2 separate regions of the Homo sapiens genome follow, and region 2 is linked to region 1. Evidence: promoter capture Hi-C in 16 types of primary human blood cells and fetal thymus (Javierre and others, 2016). All regions are on one chromosome and are shown on one strand. The core of a region is centred on a gene start or on the middle of the fragment in contact, and the rest is flanking DNA. Distances in the headings are between cores, read along the strand shown. Region 1 holds the start of TCTN1 (tectonic family member 1). Region 2 has its middle 7.7 kb from the start of CCDC63.

Region 1 (5,466 bases), core at 2,137-4,636:
CTATCTTTGATTTTTTTTCCTTTCAGGCTTCTCATATATGGCGACTTCTCATATATGGCAGCTTCTCAGCACAGAATTCTAAAAAGCTGAATTGTCTTGATCCTCCCAATGTCAGCATACACTATAAGGAATTGTGAATGCCAATAATCCTGGAGAAACAGATGGATATTTGAAATCACAAACATTTATGCACAAACCAAATGTTGAGGTTTTGGGCACAATATGGAGCTCGATCTTAGCCACTCTTGTGTCCTTCCATCCTAATGAGGGAACCTGCTAAGGCCAGGGACAAAAGGAAGGGAGAAAGGGTGTTCTGGGTTGAAAGATGAAAACAGGCTGGCAGAAATGGGTCACCTGTGAAATGAAAAGTTCCAGTGTTCCTAATGTTTGCAAACTGTATCTGGGTAGGTGCAATCCTCATTCAGAGTCAAATATCATAAAATTACTTTGGGGCCATCTACCACGTGTTTGTTTGAGATTGGACAAAAGAGGCGGTGAAATTGGCAAATCATATCATAGCAGGTCCTGGTTGGAATAATGGGATATCAGACTTGAAGAGGACCTCAGAGGTCCTATAACCATAACAAAAATTATAAAACTGGATGGGAGTGGTGGCTTACGCCTGTAATCCCAGCACTTTGGGAGGCCAAGGTGGGCGGATCACTTGAGGTCAGGAGTTCAAGAACAGCCTGGCCAATATGGTGAAACCCCGTCTCTACTAAAAATACAAAAATTGGCTGGGCTTGGTGGCAGGTGCCTATAATCCCAGCTACTTGGGAGGCTGAGGCAGGAGAATCACTTGAACCTGGAAGGCAAAGGTTGCACTGAGCCGGGATCCTGCTACTGCACTCTAGCCTGGGTGACAGAGTGAGACTCCATCTCAAAAAAAAAAAAAAATTATAAAGCTAAAGGATGAGTTATCAAAATTTAATCCAGCAGTCTAAAATTTCAAAACAGAAAATAGAACAAAATGGTTCACAGGTATTAAGGAATAGGAAAGAAAGTAGAGGGCTGGAAGTAAAGAGGTTTAAAAAGGAAAACAAACAGGCCCTGGTTTTAGAAGTTATGAGATGAAGGTTTGGAAAATATACTTTTTTTTTTTTTTTGAGACGGAGTCTCGCTGTGTCACCAGGCTGGAGTGCAGCGGTGTGATCTCGACTCACTGCAACCTCTGCCTCCCAGGTTCAAGCAGTTATCCCGCCTCAGCCTCCTGAGTAGCTGGGACTACAGGTGCCCACCACCATGCTCAGCTAATTTTTGTATTTTTAGTAAAGACGGGGTTTCACCATGTTGGCCAGGGTGGTCTTGATCTCTTGACCTCGTGATCCACCCGCCTCAGCCTCCCAAAGTGCTGGGATTACAGGCGTGAGCCACCATGCCCGGCCTACTTTTGGTTATTTTTTTTAAAAGGGGAAGCATTTAATCAGTTATTAAAAGCAGTCCAGAATTTCAGTCAGATGCTAAAGCAATCCTTTGCAGAAAAAAAGAAGTATCTGTCTTACACATTTGAGTGATTCAATTATATTTTTATACACTGTCTCTGGAATGCCACAGGAAGGTGCTAAAGATATCACTTTGATGATTTAGTTTTGCTAAATACATTTAATAAACTAGATATATATACTGTTTGACATCCTTTTGAATTGGTATATACATTTCTTGAATAAATACTGTGTTATGTTTAAGGTTTTTTTGTTTTGGAGTGCAGTGGCACTATCATGGCTTACTGCAGCCTCAAGCTCTCCAGACTGAGGCGATCCTTCCACCTCAGCCTCCTGAGTAGCTGGGACTACAGGAATGTGCCACCATACCTGGCTAATTTTTGTATTTTTTGTAGAGATGTGGTTTCACCATGTTGCCCAGGCTGGTCTCAACTCCTGGACTCAAGCGATCCTCCCAAAGGGCTGGGAGTACAGGTGTGAGCCACTGTGCCTGGCCACGTCTAAGTACTTCGACATCTACTTCTGAACTGTATGGAGATTAAGTGTCAAAGGTGCAGCCAACATTCTTGGGCTTGGGTACCTCCTAAATAAGCCCATTCAGAATGGAGAGGGTTTCCTAAATCGTAGGGTCTCCAGGTCGTTTTGTAGCATTACAGTGGATTTGCTTTGTTTTCCCCTTTAAGATGTCTAAATTATTTTACTTAATTTTTGTAAAAGATTTTTGTCTTTAAATAGGTTCTTAGGCCTGGCGTGGTGGCTCATGCCTGTAATCCTAGCTCTTTGGGAGGCTGAGGCGGGAGGATCACTTGAGGCCAGGAGTTTGTGACTAGCCTGATCAACATAGTGAGACCCCCTCTCTACAAAAAATAATAAAAGGTATTAAGTGTTCATTTGTCCCCTTTATCACAATACAGCAGACAGAAGTTATCTGGCAACCTTGTGAGATGCAGCTAAAATAAAAAGGTGAAGCCAGTGTTGACAGAGTCTGGGATAGAGAAAATTCAGAGACAGTGATCTCACAGATCCCTGTGCTCCTTCCAAACACCCACGTTAGTGGCGTTGGGACGGCGCTTCCTAAATTTCCGTCCAACTCATCTGCTTGCGTCCGGACATTTGTTAAAAATATTTATTCCTGGCTGGGAGTGGTGGCTCACGCCTGTAATCCCAACTACTCAGGACTCAGGAGGCTGGAGCAGGTGGATCACTTGAACCAGGAGTTCGATACCAGTCCGGGCGACGGAGGGAGACCTCGTCTTTACAAAAAAAAAAAAAAAAAAAAAAAAATACAAAAATTAGCTGGGTATGGTGGCGCGCGCCTGAGTTCCCAGCTACTCAGGAGGCTGAAGTGGGAGGATTGCTTGAGTCCCAGAGGTCGAGGCTGCAGTGAGCCGAGATCGCGCTACTGCACTCCAGCCTGGGCGACAGAGTGAGACCCTGTCTCAAAAAAAATCCCCCAAAAACTGATTCCTGGGTCCTGCCCTAGACTAACTGACTCAGGATCTCCTGAGGTGGTACCTGGAAATCCGTCTTTTTTTTTTTTTTTTTTTTTTTTGGTTGAGACAGAGTGTCACACTGTCGCCCAGGCTGGAGTGCAGTGGCACGCTCACGGCTCTCTGTAGCCTTCACCTCCCGGGTTCAAGCGATTCTTCTGCCTCAGCCTCCCGAGTAGCTGGAACTACAGAAAATCTGCATTTTTTAAGCAAGCGCCGCGGACCGGTTGGAAACCACAGCCGGGATTTACACGCCCCTCGTTTACGCCAGCTTCACACCCGCTCACTAGTGCTCGCCCCTGTGCCTGCCATCGCTGCCTCACCCAGGCGCCGCCCTCCGGCCTCATCCGGGATCCGCCCCCTGCCTCATCCAGGCTTCGCCCCAGTCAGTCTCCGGCAGCTTCTCGCGGCTTCGCAAGCCCCTTCCCGTGATGCCCCGCGCCTGGCTGTCGCGGTTGCCGGGCAACGCGCTGTCCATGTCGCGGGCCTCGCTGGGACTCCCTGGGAGATGAGGCCGCGAGGTCTCCCGCCGCTCCTGGTGGTGCTCCTGGGCTGCTGGGCCTCCGTGAGCGCCCAGACCGATGCCACCCCGGCGGTGACGACAGAGGGCCTCAACTCCACCGAGGCAGCCCTGGCCACCTTCGGAACTTTCCCGTCGACCAGGCCCCCCGGGACTCCCAGGGCTCCAGGGCCCTCCTCCGGCCCCAGGCCTACCCCAGTCACGGACGGTGGGTACCATGTGCCAGCTCCTGGAGTCCACAGTGATCCAACCTCAAGGGGACAGCCCCGGTGAGGACGTAATAATGATAGCTAACTCTTATTGAGCACTTACTGTGTGCAGACACTGCTGAGTGTTCCATAAACGTCCATTCTCTAAACAATAACCCTGAGAAGTAGCTGTTACTATCACTGTCAGGTAAATGAGAAAACCGGGTCTCAGAGTTTAAGTGGAACGGTATCAAACCTTTGAAAATACTTGAAGTGGTCCCAGACAACAGTGATGCAAAGAGCAATAATGAATTCTTGCAGCCCAAGACGAAATTAAGTCGAGACAATGGTGGAAATTAGTGCCTTGGCTGCACTGAACTTTCACTTAAAGAGAGGCCAAAGGTCTATCTTACTAAATGTGACTATGTTAAGACCCTTCTCTGTTGACCTGAATTCTAAAAACCCAGGATTCCTCCTGTGTTGAATTGGAGGTGGAAAGCTATTGAGGGAGGGGTTATGCTCACTTCTTAGGAGTCATATGTAGGGATAATTAACATTTTTTTCAGAAAATGATTAATTCTAGAATTACACATTTAGTGGAAATATTTTATAATCTAATTTGACGTTTGGCTGGCGCCGTGGCTCACGCCTGTAATCCCAGCACTTTGGGAGGTCAACTCGGGTGGATTGCTTGAGGTAGGAGTTCAAGATCAGTCTGGTCAAAATGGCGAAACCCAGTCTCTACTAAAAATAGAAAAAATAGCCGGGCATGGTGTAATCCTAGCTACTCGGGAGGCTGAGGCAGGAGACTCGCTTGAACCCAGGAGGCAGAGGTTGCAGTAATTACCACTGCACTCCAGACTGGGCGACAGAGCAAGACTGTCTCAAAAAAAAAAATTGACATGGATGACTTCACTGAATGACTGTGACCCGCTAAGATTGAGTGCAAAACTTTGTGAATATGCCTTTTCCTGAGATGAGAGTTCATAGCAGCCGATTCTTAAAGTGGTTCATGATCTCAAAAAAAGTTTTTAAAATTTTCCGATTGTGTGAATTGAGAGTAACCCCAATAGATATGCAGTACTTTTAATCTTTTTTTATTCTTTTTTTGTTTTTGAGACAAGGTCTCGCTCTGTTACCCAGGCTGGAGTGCAGTGGCGTGATTATATCTCACTTAAGTCTCAATCTGCTGGGCTCAAGGGATCCTTCTGCCTCAGCCTCCAGAGTAGCTGGAACCACAGGCGTGCTCCCCCAGCTTGCTTTTTTTATTTTTTTATTTTTAGTAGAGATGAGATCTCGCTATGTTGTTCAGGCTGATCTCAAACTCCTGGGCTCAAGTGATCCTCCCACCTTGGCCTTCCAAAGTGCTGGGATTACAGGTGTAAACAACTGTGCCCAGCCTATCCCTTCTTAAGAAGATCTTTTCTCAAATTGATTAAGGCTCAGTATTAGTAAGTAAAAAAGTCATCAGCTGAGATCTTGAACTCTAGGACTTAACTGCGGTTACTGAACCTTTATTTCTCCAAAAGCTCTCCTTTCTGAATTACGAGTAATCTGAAAGAAAAAGTACAGAGAAATATATTTGCTATTTTAATATATAAACAGAGCTCTGTTTTATATTTAAATTGTTGATTTGATGAATTAGTAGGGAAGTTAAATCAGTGATAAACTGGGACAGAAGAAAGCCAAGTATTCAATGCCTGAAACTCTAAAGTTTTTGGACTGGATTGTCTTTTATTCATGTAAGTACTCCATCTGTTAATGCATTTTCTCTCCAAAATAAAGCTATGCTTGAAACATCATTATTATAGCATGTGTTCAAGGCT
Region 2 (5,466 bases), core at 871-3,370, 220 kb after region 1:
AAGAAAACTGAATCCAACCCAGACAGTTCAAAAGACTTTAAAGAAGGACTTCTCTTAGAGTGTGGGCAGGGTTAAGGGAACAGAGAAGAGAGATTGAGGCACTGAGAGAATAGCAAGAGAAGGAAGCCATTGCCACACTAAAGGTAGGACAAGGCAGGAGAAGGAACTGATGTGATGGAAGCCCAGTGAGGGCTGGAGCTGGGGAGGGGGGCCATATAGACAGAAGCTGTAGCTACATAGGGATGTAGCGACTAGCAGGGACAGGATGTCAAAGTATGCAAGAACTTTGAAAGAAACGTCTCACATCTCTCTCACCCTGTCTGACTGGTCTCCTGCTGGTCTCTGTCATTGGCCACATTCAACCAGAAGACAGAAGGTAAGGGAGACCTTGAGTGATGTGGATCACACTGTCCACTTCTTGAGACACACAGCAGGAAGAGAAGAGTGGCAAATGAATTGGACAGAAGATGGACTAGACGACGAAAAACAATATGTACATACCATGCATATGCTTAATAGATGTGGGTATTTTATTTTATTTTGTATTAAACATTTTTAAATAGAGATGGGGGTCTCATTATGTTGCCCAGGCTGGTCTCTAACTCCTGGACTCAAGCGATCTTCCCACCTTGACCTCCCAAAGTGCTAGGATTATAGGTGCGAGCCACTGCACCAGGCCAGGTGTGGTTATTTTTACGTTTTTCGATGCTCTAGAATGTCCCATGAGTAGATAAGCCATAATTTACTTTAAAAATCCTCCTCTTGGCCATGGCGTGGTGGCTCACACTTGTAATCCCAGCACTTTGGGAGGCGGAGGTGGGCAGATCACAAGGTCAGGAGATCGAGACCATCCTGGCTAACACAGTGAAACCCTGTCTCTACTAAAAATACAAAAAATTAGCTGGGCGTGGTGGTGGGCACCTGTAGTCCCAGCTACTCGGGAGGCTGAGACAGGAAAATGTCATGAACCCAGGAGGCGGAGGTTGCAGTGAACAGAGATAGCGCCGCTGCACTCCAGCCTGGGCGACAGAGCAAGACTCCATCTCGAAAAAAAAAAAAAATCCTCCTCTTGTTCATCTGTCTAGAAAACTTTTGTATCGGAGTACAATACACACATATAAAGGGGTCCATATCAGAAGTGTATGGCTGGATGAATTTTCACAAATGAATTGATTATGTAACCAGATCAAGAAACAGAATATCTGCAGCCCTGAAAGCCTCTTGATTTCCCTTCCAGTTATTTCTTCTCTATCCCCCTCTACCATATAACCTCTATTCTGACTTCTAAAGGCAAAGTTAGCTTCCCCTAATTTTGTGCTTTATATGAATGGCATTTTTCAGTATGAGCTCTTCTGGGCTTGGCTTTTTTCATTCCAAGTGTTTATTTTGTTGATTTTTACTTATTTCCACTTGCCTATGTAGAGATGATTTTACAATCGGCATCTTTGTATATATGGATTTTTTTTGCCTTTGGCTTATTTTCTTTTTCTTTTTAAAAAGTGCAATGCTGTTAATGTAACTTGAAAAATACCTCAGCATTCTAAACATACAAAATAAAGAAGATTCTTCTTCTTCTTCTTCTTCTTTTTTTTCGACATGGAGTCTCACTTTGTTGCCCAGGCTGGAGTGCAGTGGCAAGATCTTGGCTCACTGCAACCTCCCCCTCCTGGGTTCTAGTGATTCCCCTGCCCCAGCCTCCCGAGTAGCTGGGATTACAGGTGCCTGCCACAACGCCCGGCTAATTTTTTTTTGTATTTTTTTTTTTTTTTTTTTGAGACGGAGTCTAGCTCTGTTGCCCAGGCTGGAGTGCAGTGGTGGGATTTCGGCTCACTGCAAACTCTGCCTCCTGGGTTCACGCCATTCTCCTGCCTCAGCCTGGCTTTTTTTGTTTTTTTAGTAGAGGCGGGGTTTCACCTTGTTAGCCAGGATGGTCTCAATCTCGTGATCCGCCTGCCTCGGCCTCCCAAAGTGCTGGGATTACAGGCGTGAGCCACCATGCCCAGCCTTTGTTTGTATTTTTAGTAGAGATGGGGCTTGCCATGTTGGCCAGGCTGGTCTCGAACTCCTGACCTCAGGTGATCTTCCTACCTCAGCCTTCTAAAGTGCTGGGATTATAGGCATGAGCCGCTGCGCCCGGCCTGATTCTTGAACTTTCACTGATGGGTGGCTCTTTGTTTGCTGACAAGGAAGAGTTCTGTAGTTTGTTTAAAACAAAATTTAGGCCAGGTGCAGTGGCTCATGTCTATAATCCCAGCACTTCGGGAGGCCGAGGTGGGAGGATCATTTGAGGCCAGAGGTTCAAGACCAGCCTGGCCAACACAGACCCTGTCTCTGTTAAAAAAAAAAAAAAAAAAGCCAGGTGTGGTGTAGTTCCAGCTCCTCAGGAGGCTGAGGTGGGAGGATCACTTGAGGCTGGAAGGTCAAGGCTGCAGTAAGCTATGACTGCACCACTGGACTCCAGTGTAGGTAACAGAGGGAGACCCTTTCTCGAAAAGAAAAAAAAAGGCTGGGCATGGTGGCTCACGCCTGTAATCCCAGAACTTTTTTAGGAGGCCGAGGCGGGTGGATCACCTGAGGTCAGGAGTTTGAGGCCGGCCTGGCCAACATGGCGAAGCCCTGTCTCTACTTAAAAATACAAAAATTAGCCAGGCGTGGTTGTGGGCACCTGTAATCCCAGCTACTCAAGAGGCTGAGGTAGGAGAATCGCATGAACCCGGGAGGCGGAGGTTGGGGTGAGTTGAGACCGCACCATTGCACTCCAGCCTGGGCAACAAGAGCGAAACTCTGTCTCAAAAAAACAAAAAACAACCAAAAAACCCCCAAACACTTCTCATGCCAGCTGATCCCACTTTGTCCACAGCTAAGAATGGCAGCAGAATGCTATGTCACTCTATACAGAAACAAGACCACCTGAAGCTAAATAGATGCTCACCACGGAGTCAACAGGTCCTGTCTCACAGTGCACGCCCTGAGCTACCACTCCTCCGAAAGCCATCTTCCCCCACGGCCTCATTGCCAAGTGAGGAACATCAAGAGTTTGTCTTGGTTGTTTTGTTCTTTTTTACAAACTATGGATATGTACAGTTGATAACTCAGGATTTCTAGCCAATAACCGTATAGTTAACATCGTCTTAGAATTTAAAAAAATGTCAGAAACATCTTTAAATGCCTTGCCATACCATCAAAGGGCACAGAGAGAGGAGAACACAAGAGTGCCTTTGCATTTTAAAAATCTTTGACTTGGCCGGGCATGGTGGCTGATGCCTGTACTCCCAGGAGTTTGGGAGGCCAAGGCAGGTGGATCATGTGAGGTCAGAAGTTCGAGACCAGCCTAGCCAACATAGCAAAACCCCATCTCTATTAAAAAATGCAAAAATTATCTGGGTGTGGTGGCGCACACCTGTAGTCCCAGCTACTTGGGAGGCTGAGGCAGGAGAATCGCTTTAATCTGGGAGGTGGAGGTTGCAGTGAGCCGAGATAGTGCTACTGCACTCCAGCCTCAGCAACAGAGGGAGACTCTGTCTCAAAAAAAAAAAAAATCCCCAAGTTTGACTTATTTTCTTAGGATGAATCTCCACATTTAGGTTTCCTGGGTTGAAGAATATAAACATTTTTATAACTCTTGCTGTGTGAGGCCAAAATGTTTTCTGAAGAATCTACACCTGTGTCAGAAGTCTGTCACTGAGATAATGAGTGGCACTTATCTTATGGATTAGTACTGTTTTTACTTATTTTGTTTGTTTGTTTTTTGAGATGGAATCTCTCTCTGTTACCTAGGCTGGAGTGCAGTGGTATGATCTCAGCTCACTGCAACTTCCACTGCCCGGGTTCAAGTGATTCTCCTGCCTCAGCCTCCCAAGAAGCTAGGACTACAGGCACGCACCACCATACCCAGCTCATATTTGTATTTTTAGGAGAGATGGGGTTTCACCATGTTGGCCAGGCTGGTCTTGAACTCCTGACCTCAGGTGATCTGCCTGCCTTAGACTCCCAAAGTGCTGGGATTACAGGTGTGAGCCACCGTGCTCAGCCCTGTTTTTATTTTGAATGCCATGGGTGGGGTAAAATATTTCACAATCTTTGCAGACTTTAAAGTTCTCCATTTGGTCCTGGCAGTCTCAATAAATCAAGGCTCAGAGAAGTCTATTTGCTTTTCTAGGGGCACACAGCAAACCAGTGGCAGATCCAGGACTCCAGCATTCTGTCCACTGCGCCATTGTGCCTCACTGTGTTACAGGAAAGGGATCCGGATCCAGACCCCAAGAGAGGGTTCTTGGATCTCCTGCAAGAATGAATTCAGAGTGAGTCCATAGAGTAAAGTGACAGCAAGTTTATTAAGAAAGTAAAGGGATAAAAGAATGGCTACTCCATAGACAGAGCTGTCCCGAGGTCTGCTGATTGCCCATTTTTATGGTTATTTCTTGATGATATGCTAAACAAGGGGTGGATTATTCATGTCTCCCCTTTTTAGATCATATAGGGTAACTTCCTGACATTGCCATGGCATTTATAAACTGTCATGACGCTGGTGGGAGAGCAGCAATGAGGACGACCAGAGAACACTCGTCGCCATCTTGTATTTGGTGGATTTTAGCCAGCTGCTTTTCTGCAAACTGTTTTATCAGCAAGGTCTTTATGATCTGTATCTTGTGCTGTCCTCCTATCTCATCCTGTGACTTAGAATGCCTTAACCGTTTAGGAATGCAGCCCAGTAGGTCGTAGCCTTATTTTACCCAGCCCCTACTCAAGATGGAGTTGCTTTGATTCAAATGCCTCTGACAATTGGAAGGGAGGCCAAGAGGGGTGCAATTCTGGATCCCACTAGGAAGGAATTGGAAACTTTGGATGTCAACAATGGCCACGGTCTCTGTATCTGATAGTTCTTTTTTCTTTCCTGCCTCAGTTTATTTGTACAAAGAGCACAGGAGGACAATAGTCCCGTGGGGTTGACAGCCCAGGGGTTACACCAGTCCTTCCATCCTGGCCTGAGCTGGAAGTGAAGCTGGACCCCAAGCCTTGGTTTGATCCTTGGCCTTGGCCTTTGGCCGACAGAGCCTGAGACGCTTGGCAGTGCCAGCACAAGGCAGGAGAATCACTTGAACCTGGGAGGCAGAGGTTGCAGTGAGCTGAGATCTCACCACTGCACTCCAGTGGGGTGATGCAGGCAGGTTGATGGAGCTTCCCAAGCTTGGAGTGGGTGATGCAGGCAGGTCGATCAAGCTTGTGGCTGATGCCCTTTGGGATCTTGGGCTTAGCCTCCTCGGGCTTTGCCAGGGCCTTGATAGCCTCGGCACGTGCACCCATGGCCTTGGCATTGTTGGCCTGCATCTTCTTCAGGCTCTTTTTGTTGTGCTTCTTGGCAAAGCGCATGTTCCTCAGGAACTTAGGGTCCACCCCCTAAAGAGATTCATATCTTTGCGATCAGAATTTGTTTTTTGTTTGTTTGTTTGAGACAGAGCCTCCCTC

Evidence for each region. Contacts are between HindIII fragments. The CHiCAGO score rates a contact against its expected background, and 5 or more counts as called.
Region 2: a contact is called between a fragment that was not itself captured here and the fragment with the promoter of TCTN1 in region 1, in 5 of 17 cell types (naive B cells, megakaryocytes, activated CD4 T cells and 2 more). The highest score is 6.9, in naive B cells.

The regions. Positions count from the first base shown.
Region 1 is chr12:110,610,743-110,616,208 of GRCh38, forward strand. It overlaps TCTN1 (tectonic family member 1), which reads left to right and starts at 3,387. Exons shown (of 15, transcript NM_001082538.3): 1 at 3,387-3,660. The coding sequence starts at 3,441. RefSeq lists an enhancer at 3,664-3,713. The HindIII fragment of the contact is 6,908 bases long and covers 1-5,466 here.
Region 2 is chr12:110,836,575-110,842,040 of GRCh38, forward strand. It overlaps the pseudogene RPL29P25. Among named protein-coding and RNA genes, the nearest start is that of CCDC63, 7.7 kb to the right of the region's middle. The HindIII fragment of the contact is 6,129 bases long and covers 1-5,185 here.